Regions from separate parts of the Homo sapiens genome. Here region 1 is linked to region 2. Evidence: promoter capture Hi-C in 16 types of primary human blood cells and fetal thymus (Javierre and others, 2016). All regions are on one chromosome and are shown on one strand. Each heading gives the region's core, a stretch centred on a gene start or on the middle of the fragment in contact. The rest is flanking DNA. Distances are from core to core; before and after follow the strand shown. Region 1 overlaps GCOM1 (GCOM1, MYZAP-POLR2M combined locus). Region 2 holds the start of GCOM1 (GCOM1, MYZAP-POLR2M combined locus).

Region 1 (4,988 bases), core at 101-2,600, 120 kb after region 2:
TTTGGTCTCAGGACTCCGTTATACTTTAAGAATTATTGACATCCCAAAGAGCTATTTTATGTGTTGTATCTAGCGAAATGTATTTACTTATCAGAAATACGTCTGAAGTCTTTAAAACATAAGCATACACAAGCACACATTCTATTCTAGAACAATGATGTCATCACATGCCATGTAGCCTCTGGAAAACTCCACTGTACCCATGCGAGAAAATGAGAGGGAAATAATATCTTAGTATTATTATGAAAGTAGTTTTGACCTAATAGGCCCATCCCCACACTCCACCCCATCCCCAAATTTTGGAGATTGCACTTTAATGACTGCTGGTTCTTGGAATGTCTTATGTGATTATTATATGCTTAAAATACTTTTGCTGAAATTCTAATTTGCTGAGACAAATGAGGCATATATTCCCTATTCTTCCTGCATTCCCTTGTTTTTTGGGCTATTTGGATAATGACCATTTTAATTGTTTTATTCTTGTTTTGGGGCAGTTAGAAATCAGATATTTGACTTAAAAATCAGCTTTTCTTTCTTTGAAGATAATGCCTTGCCTTTTTAATGTTATATCTCAAGTTAAAAAAATGGCTGTAATGTAATAGTATTCTTTTCCATTTGACAGAAAATTCATTTGCAAATTGCCCGACAAAGGTAAAAAGATCTTTGACTCTTTTGCCAAACTGAAAGCTGCCATTGCAGAATGTGAAGAAGTTAGAAGAAAAAGTGAACTGTTTAACCCTGTTAGTTTAGACTGTAAGCTAAGGCAAAAAGCAATTGCAGAAGTTGATGTGGGTACAGATAAGGCCCAGAATTCTGACCCGATACTTGATACTTCATCACTAGTTCCTGGATGTTCCTCTGTAGATAACATCAAGTCATCTCAAACCTCACAAAACCAGGGACTTGGACGTCCTACTCTTGAAGGTGATGAAGAGACTTCAGAGGTTGAGTACACAGTGAATAAGGGCCCAGCTTCCAGCAATAGAGACAGGGTACCACCTTCATCTGAAGCTAGTGAGCATCACCCGCGGCATCGTGTTTCAAGTCAAGCGGAAGATACTTCCAGCAGCTTTGACAACCTGTTTATTGACAGGTTACAGAGGATCACCATTGCGGACCAAGGTGAACAACAGTCAGAAGAAAACGCAAGTACTAAGAACTTGACAGGCCTTTCCAGTGGGACTGAGAAGAAACCTCATTACATGGAAGTGCTAGAAATGCGAGCCAAAAACCCAGTGCCCCAGCTGCGTAAATTTAAAACCAATGTGTAAGTACCCTCGGAAACAGGCCTGTAACAGGAACGTGATATTTGTTAAACTCAAAAATTTACGAGAAACTGGGTGTGGTGGTGCTTGCCTGTAGTCCCAGGCTACTCAGGAGGCTGAGGTGGGAAGACAGCTTTGAGTCCAGGAGTTGTAGACCAGCTTGGGCAATATAATAAGACCTTTTCTCTTAAATAAGTCAGGAGAATGCTCTAAGTTCCGTGGGCTTTGTATGAGAACTACTTGTAGTTAGGAAATAACATGTTGTGGCAACACTGAGACCAGCCTGGCCGGAGTAGAAGATTCATGTTGAAAAATATTTAGTTTTGAAACCAAATAATCGACAAGGTCTTTTAAAGCACATGGGGGAGTGTTAAATTTTAGGATGCTTAGCCAGTATTTCATAATAAACACAGAGTTGGAGAGAATTTATTATGACTTCTTTTTTTCAGAACCATTTTTTAGTGTACAGCTTTGATTAGTGTACTATCAAAGTGTACTCTCTTTGATTAGTCTGTGAACTAAGGGTAAAGCAATTGCAGGAGCTGATGGGCTTTCCAGCAGAAATTATTTGCATGCTCACTGTATGTAAGCAAGCAGCAGGTGTTGTGGGGACACAATTAAGTCAAGATTCTTAAAACTCCTTTGCCTTTTTTGATGTTAAATCTCAAGTTTAAAAACATGGCTGTAATGTATACATGTGTAATGTAATACAATACCATGTTCTTCAAGGAGTTTAAGAGCTACATGAGGACCCAAGGTTTACACACTTGGAAAAGAGTTAAGCTACATAATAATAACAGTTTCAGGGGGAAGGAAGCTGAGAAGAGGTTTGAAAAACTGTGAAAATAGATTCAGGCAGGATAGGCAAAAACTCTGCTTATCAGTTCCTTGCCATAAATTTGTTTCTGAAATTTCAGGAAAAGTAAAATCTTTTTGAAAATAATTGCTATTTACTTGCAGCAAATGTAACATTCAACTCAGGTAACTGGTACCTTCTTCCTATATTGTATTTACAAGTATGTAACATCAAAGTTAAATCACTACTACCTTTCTTTGAAAAACAGAAAACCTCTAGTGAAAAGTATCTAAAACATGCTTCTTTTTTGTTAGACTTTAATTCTACCCCAGCATTCATTTTAACCTCAAAACATTTTATTTCTGCTGTATAGAAAATCAGGATTATACTACATTAACGTGATCAAGTACTCTCTTGTGTACAGTGGGGTATCTTTCTTCACTTCCAGGATGACATTTTAGAAAACTAGAACCATCATCTAGTCAATAAATAAAACAAAGAATACATTAATCCCAGTTCTGTATTATGGTCATTTAGCTGGGAGTGGGAGAGAGGTAAGGGAATAGTGAAGAGGGCTACCAAGAATTCAGGAAGTTTAAGAGACAGGGAGCCTCCTGTATAAGTTAGAGGAGAACAGGAAAGGCAGGGCTTTGAGGAGTCCTTAGGCCATAGACAGGTAGGGATTGAGAGGGTTCCGTGTGAGAGGTGGCTTGGAGGTTGGAAGGTGGGGTCAGGTAGTGTCCTTTGGGTCCTTTCTGCTCTTCCTTCTGCATACTCTTCTGGCTTCATGTATCACCTGGATGCTGGAGGCTGACCCCTGTGCACCTCTATCCCAGATCTTCCCAGAACTTTAGGTTTGCATAGCCAATTAACCATGAAACTTGATCACTTGGGTGTTCCCAGGTACCTCAGCTTAATGATGTACAAAGTGGAACTGCAGTTTCTTTCCAAGGTGATTTCCATATTCCCTAATAGTGCCACCACCTTCTCGGTTTTCTTCCCCTAAGGTATCTTCGATTTTTCTCATCTCCATATCTGCTAGCCATGAAGACCTACTTATTTCTTTGATCTTCATCTCTATAATTGTTCTTCATCTTCTGTCGAAGTGAAGACTCTCATCTCTCTCGGGCTGTAATTGTGGCCCCTTCTACCTCTAGTCTTAACTACCAGTCTATCTCCACTGCTGCCAGAGTGAAATTTGTAAGATGGAAATCCGAACTTGTTACGGAGAACTCTTCATTGCAGTCTGGGCCTAGGCTACTTCCCAGCCCTCTTTCTCGCTGTCTTTTCTGTGTAGCCAGAAAAGCTGAGTCTGTCTACCTTCTGTACTTTCTCTCACTCCCCTTGCTGGGATGCACTTCTCTCCTTATTTACATGGGTAAGCAGTTATTATTCCAAGACTGTTCAAAGCTTTTTTGAAACTTTTCTTAGCCTCCCTGTCTCCCACTAGAACTGGCCATTTCCTTATGTTCCAATGTATCTTGTTGAGATATCTATCACAGTATCTCTGGTATTGTATTGCACTGAAACTTTACATGTGTATTTCTTTCTACTGGGCAATAAGCCCTTTTGCAAATGTTCTTTGAATAAATGAAAAAAAAAAAAAAAACTCCAGATGAAATACAAGGTTTGAATAAGGAAGGAAAAGGCAAAGAGCCTGTATGCACACAAACACACCCCTATTTGTTAGAGCAATGAATACTGGTAAATTACTTACTGTTACCTTTGGAGGAGAATTAATTGCTAAGGTAAAGGCCATTTGTGTGAATGTTTTAAATGTGTCTACAAATAAAATAATCTGATTGTATAACACAAGTTTTCCTTTCATCAGGTTACCTTTTCGACAAAATGATTCATCTAGTCATTGCCAGAAGAGTGGGTCTCCTATTTCCTCAGAAGAGCGGCGGCGCAGGGATAAGCAGCATCTTGATGACATCACAGCAGCTCGGCTTCTACCACTTCACCATATGCCCACGCAGCTGCTCTCCATAGAAGAATCCTTGGCACTTCAGAAACAGCAGAAACAGAATTATGAGGTATTTAGAGTATTTTTTTTCTTGTCTGTTTGTTGGGTGCTGCTTACATAAGCTAGAATTTACTCCAGGTTCAAGGAGGAAGGAATGGAATAGAGGGGATTAGGTGCTTCCATGAGCTCAGATCTATGCCACTAGTTTTCAGAGAGTCACAAAGTTGCTAGAACTGCAGGAAGTAGCTAGAGATGATCACAGCTACCTTCAACATTAAAGTGGTGATTTGCCTGGAGATGTGGGGAGACTTGTAGAATTTCATGTCTTAAAGCTCATTTACCTGCCTGTTCCTGTTAGGATAGTAGTAGCATCGCATCTCTCCCTTTCACCTTGTAAAACTCATGTGACAGCTTCTCAGTGGCGGACTCAAACCCAGACCCCTTGTTAGAGAATGAGGAGAATGTAGTTCCCAGGCTTCCATCTTCTGCAGTACAGGGGAGGGCATAGAAGGAGTGGGAGGATAATGTTGTGTAGCCAGCAGACAGTGAGACACTGCTTTAGAGCATAATCTGCAGGCCCATGTGAAGAGAGAAATATCTCCTGCTTTTGGCAGCTTAATCAATTTTGCATAGCACTTTGTTTCCATGTGTTTTGCATTGAACTTCAAACATGTATGTTGAGAGTTTGTATACAGAATAATGGGATGGGAGAAAATAAGTGTGAAGGACCATAGGGGAACAGAAAAGTTTAGAAGTATTTAGTAATAATTTTAGCCTCCAGGAGAACAGTATCCTGTCTCACTTCCTAGGTATTGATTAGCTAGATTTTAGTCAGGTACTAGTGCACCAACTAGTATAACACCAGACTGTTCAGGAGTTCGAGACCAGCGTGGGCAACATAGCTAGACTCCATCTTTACCAAAAAATTAGCCGGGCATTGGGGCATGCAACTGTGGTTCCA
Region 2 (5,141 bases), core at 921-3,420:
CCACTCTCCTCTCTCTTGCAGTTCCTTATGACCTCAGATTCCTAGTGCTGGCCTATTAGGGAGGAGCTGTGGCATAAGCCAGGGCCTGGCATCTGCCTGGACACACCACCCACAGCCCTTGGCGATTGTCAGCCAGCTTTGGGGAAATGGCCTGGCTGGGACAACCCTGGGGCTCTTGTTGCTTCAGCTGCCAAATTGCTTGGAGTCCCTGGCCCACCCTAGGAGCTGGGTTGGCAAGGATCTTAGTTTCTGTTTTTCATGACCATGAGTGAGTTGAAATCTTACTCTGTAATAACATTTCTTCATTCTTTCCACATTTACTTGCACTACCACACGTCAATTACCTGCTCTAGATATTGGACAGGCAGAGATGTAAACAAGATCCAGCTTCTACACAGAGCTCACAAGCTAGTGAGCTGTCTGCTGCTTTTGTAAAGAAATATAACACCGTGTGAATAGGATGTTAACAATATGAAAAAGACTTGGGTAGATTAGAGGGCTTCGTGGAAGTGGAATGGGAAGGAACCTGTCATGAACAATTTTCTTTTTGGAAGGGATAGGTGGATGGGAGGATGCAGAGAGGAGTGTAGCAGAAAAGCAGAAGGACTTGGGTTAGAAGACTAGATGTGTAGTCTCAGCTGTTCACCAATTAACCTAATGTCTCTGGCCTCAGTTTCCTCATTTGCAAAACAGGGGCGATAACTGTAGCCCACCTTGTGGGGCATTGTGAGAATTGGTTGAGAAAATGCATATAAAGCACTTAGGACACAAGCACAGCTACTGTGAGGATGACGATGAGGATGGTGAAGAACAGGCTGTGCAACTTTGGGAAAGTCACTTGTATACACCGGCCTCAGTTTCCTCATCTACAAAAGGAGTGAGTTCCACAGGATCATCTGTAATTCTGTTTAGCAACATTTTTTTTTCAGCATCTTCCCTGTTGGTGCCATTGGGCATTCAGAGAGGGTCAAGGCCTGGCCTCTGCCCTCCAGAAGGACAGGGTACAGGCACACACATAGATAACTCTAACAGAAGACAGGGTCCCGCGGAGCTGCTAAGTTCCTGAGCATGCGTGTTTGGGGAAGGGGTTTCTGGAGAGCTCCGTGGGGAGGCAGTGCTTGACCTGGGCTTTGAAGACAGAGATTGTGTCTTTCCCTGCTGAAAAACACTTTGTCCTCAAGATAAAGGCCAAATTTCCAGCTAAGCACACAGGTTCCTCATGATGTCCTCAGCTCCCTTCCGCTGCTTCTCCACTGTTTTCCCACTGCACTGTGATACTTCCAATTCTTGAAACATATTTTATACCTTCCCTTGCTTTCCTTCCATCTTTGTGCATGCTAGTTCTTTTGACCTGGGACTCCCTCCTCCCTCTGTTAGGGGACAGCAGAGGGGACAAGCAAGGCACTAGGGTCGGACTGGGGGATTCATATCCTACCTTTGCCACTGAGAGGCCAGTGGGTCGCCTGCTGTGTTGCTCAATCCCTAGGTGAGTCAGCGTCTTCATCTGCAAAATGGGGATACAAGGTAACAACAGTGACTCCCTCAAAGGGCAATGGTGAGGATTAAATGAGGTAACACACGCAAAGTGCTCGCCAGGCAGGCCCACAGTAATCATTGAATAAATATGGGCAGTGTGGCCCACTCCTACTTGCATTTCAGGTCTTAGCTTAGTCATCACCTCCTCTGAGGTTGGCTGTGTGCTCCCTTAGTACATGGTATCTCCTCTTCTACCACAGCCCGGCACCTGTCATCCCCACCACACTGCAAACTCTCCGAGGCCAACAGCCAGTCGACTGGGTTGGCTGCTGGTGGGGACGCATAATAGGCATTCAGGAAATACTGAATGAATGACATGGGGTGAGGGTCCCAGTGATACGAGGGCGTGCAGAGGCTGTAGGGGGCAGTCCGGGGTGGGGGTAGGTCGTGAGACTGAATGGGCAGGTGGATCTCAACTCTGCGGGGGACAGAGAGAGCATGGGCGTCCAGGCTGTCCAGGGCTCCTTCTTGCCCTGGGACTGACCCTGGGAGGGCGCAGCGCCCTGGGAGAGGATGGTGCTCAACTTTAACCGGGTCGGCGCCCTCGGGAGAAAATGCAGCCTGACGGGTCGGGTGAGCGCGCTCGGCCCCGCCCCGGCCCGGCCCGGCCCCGCCCCCGGCCCCACCCCCGGGCCTTCGCGGTGCAGCTGAGGCTGCAAGTAGCCGGCGCCGTCCCGCGTCGCCCCCGCGCAGGGCGGGCCCCGCACGCTTATTCTGCCCGGGAGGAACGCCGGCGTCCAGCCCGCTACCGACCGCCGCTGCGGGATGCTGCGCTCCACGTCCACGGTCACCCTGCTCTCGGGCGGCGCCGCCAGGACGCCCGGGGCGCCCAGCAGGAGGGTGAGTAGCGGGGGCGGGAGCCGCCGCCGTCCCGTTCCCCCATCCCGGCCGCCCCCTCTAGAGGGGACTAGGGATGGGAAAGCTCGGGAGCCAGCACCTGGCCCCGACGCCCCACCCTGGGCTCAACTCCCCGGTCCTGTGCCGGCTCTGGCAGTGACCCTCCCGCTTGAGGTTTCAGGGGGCCCACCAGCTGGTAGGAGAGGGCTTAGGGGACTTTATGGAATTCCCAGAGATTTCCTCTCCTTCCTGCCTTTCTGTCAAGCCGAGTTTATTGGCGGCACCAGTTTAAAAATGAAGGAAGACATTTGTGCAGTGTCCCTACCTTGAGACTCAAAAGTAATGAATGTATTTAAAACTCAAACTTTCCTTCTTCCATTAATTAAAAGAAAGATGGGGTCACTTGTGTCCACTAGTGATAGGGTATCCACTAGTGATAGGGTAATTCTGGAGTGGGGTTAGCCAAGGTGGGCAAACCAGAACAGCAGCCGGCCGCCCAGGAGCCCGACTGTGTGGGACTCCGGTTTATGTAAACCACTTTCTTCTGTCTGATTTAAATATTAGCACAGTGACAACAATGGCAGCACTGAAAGCTTGGGACAGCATCTCCAGGGAAGGTTTCCCTTTGGAAGTGCTGTTTCTTTTTGATCTTTGTGGCATCTTTTCCCATCTCTCCAGATGCTCTGTAAAAGAAATGCTCCATCTTTCTAACACGGTCAGCACCTTAGAGCCACAGCCAGGGGCTTGGCTTGTGGCTTTTTAGTTCTTCCATTTATCATGATGTTCAATACTTATCATTTGGTACCTCTTTGCTCTGATTGAGACTTCTGTAATCGTGTTTCCTCAAGATTTAAACAGGTGGTTAAGTCCAAAGCAAAACCCCCACTGGTTCTGTCTGCGTGCAGGCTTGGACCTGCTTATTTGCTTTTACATGCCTTAAGCGAGTGATGGTGGTCACCTTATAAGCTGTCTTTCTTAGCTCTAGAAGAAAGGTGTGTTACTCTTGGGCATGGGCCAACTGATGGATTCTGGGGTGTGTGTGTGCGTGCACTCACCAGACACTTAGGTTGTGTACACAGGCGCACACACACACACACACACACACACACCCCAGAATCCATCAGTTGGCTCATGCCCAAGGTTGACAGAACTCCAGTTGTCCAATCATTAGCATCATAGAGTAAGATCTACATTGGGTCCAAGGGGGTTTCCAACCACAGTCCTGGCCTTACTCTAAGTTGGGTGTTTGTATTTTTCTATGGAAATCTTTCTCAATTTGAACACAATTGCAACTGAGAAAGAATGAAGTCACTGAAAAGCTAACCCTGAGCCCTGAGAGGATCATATGTGTGACCAGACTGCATGAATTGCATGAAATTCTCTGTAACTTCCCTTCCAGAGGTGGGGATTAGTTGGGGTACCTAACCTAATACGGTGGGTTGATACAAATGTGACTAGTATACAAATAACATTTCTGAAGATTTTGGGTCAAACGTTTCCTTTGGAATATTTATTTAATTATAGGTGCTTTGCTGTCGGACACATTGTGACACTCTTGAAAAGACTTTGCCTTTTGAATAAGATGGCAGACGTATTTTGGACTGGAGAACTCAGGGCTCGGGATCAGGCCATTCAGGGCTGTCCTGGGTACACTGGTACTTGTTTCTGGAAGGAAGGTATCTAAAGGGTCTAGGGTTCTGCCCATCTTTATGGTTTCTAGCTCTGCTCATGATTTGCAGATGTTACAAGTACTATCTGTGTGTGTGCTGGGGATTGTGTGTGTGGTGGGAAGCTGTGAGATGTTGATTAATTGATTTATTGAACATTCATAAACCTTTCTCTGTGTGGTAAAGGGCTGGCATTGGGGTCCGCCCTACCTGTAGAGGCAGACATTTTCCCAAACTAACATCAAACAAAGTGGTGATGGTTATAGTGGGGTGAAGAGTTTACAAAGTTCTGTAGAAGCTAAAATAAAGGTTCTTCCTGAGGCATCAGGGGAAGGCCTCTCACTAAAGGTATGTTTTTTTGAGATGGAGTCTCACTTTGTCATCCAGGCTGGAGTGCCATGGCACGATCTCGGCTCACTGCAGCCTCCACCTCCCAGGTTCAAGCAGTCCTCCTGCCTCAGCCTTCCGAGTAGCTGGGACTACAGGCGCACACCACCATGCTTGGCTAATTTTTGTATTTTTAGTGGAGACAGGGTTTTGTCATCTTGGCCAGCCTGGTCTTGAACTCCTGACCTCAAGTGATACAACTGCCTCGGCCTCCCAAAGTGCTGGGATTATAGGCATGAGCCACCCAGCCCCGCCTACTGGTGATGTTTGAGTTTAATCTTGCAGGATGAGTAGAATTTGTAGGGGAATTGACATTATTGGGATACTGAAAGGAGGAAATAACCATCTCAATGGAATACTTGGCATATATAATCATGTACTGCATAACCACATTTTGGTCAACAGTAGCCAGGATATATGACGGTGGTTGGAATGGTAGGCTATCTCATATCGCCTAGGTGTGTGGTAGGCTATACCATCTAGGTTTGTGTAAGTGCACTCTATGATGATTACGCAACGACAAAAATCATCAAATGATGCATTTCTCAGAGTGCATCTCCACGGTTAAGTGACACATGACTACTTTATCATGATGGCAAATTGGACCTGCTTTGGGACAAAATACCTATTGTTTAGAAAAGCAGGAACGGGATGTCCTGAAAGTAAAATTGTAGACCAAATAATCATTGGAAGTGTACCTTTCATTGAAAGTTG

What was found. The method cuts DNA at HindIII sites, captures the fragments that hold promoters and counts their contacts. A CHiCAGO score of 5 or more calls a contact.
Region 1: a contact is called between a fragment that was not itself captured here and the fragment with the promoter of GCOM1 in region 2, in 2 of 17 cell types (naive CD4 T cells and naive B cells). The highest score is 7.3, in naive CD4 T cells.

The regions. Positions count from the first base shown.
Region 1 is chr15:57,708,092-57,713,079 of GRCh38, forward strand. It overlaps GCOM1 (GCOM1, MYZAP-POLR2M combined locus), which reads left to right. Exons shown (of 17, transcript NR_104371.3): 15 at 623-1,267; 16 at 3,893-4,097. POLR2M (RNA polymerase II subunit M) reads left to right here. Exons shown (of 4, transcript NM_015532.5): 2 at 623-1,267; 3 at 3,893-4,097. Among named protein-coding and RNA genes, the nearest start is that of POLR2M, 3.9 kb to the left of the region's middle. The HindIII fragment of the contact is 4,237 bases long and covers 1-3,469 here.
Region 2 is chr15:57,589,734-57,594,874 of GRCh38, forward strand. GCOM1 (GCOM1, MYZAP-POLR2M combined locus) reads left to right here and starts at 2,171. Exons shown (of 17, transcript NR_104371.3): 1 at 2,171-2,376. It overlaps MYZAP (myocardial zonula adherens protein), which reads left to right and starts at 2,171. Exons shown (of 13, transcript NM_001018100.5): 1 at 2,171-2,376. The coding sequence starts at 2,302. RefSeq lists a silencer at 2,060-2,169. The HindIII fragment of the contact is 3,808 bases long and covers 1-2,964 here.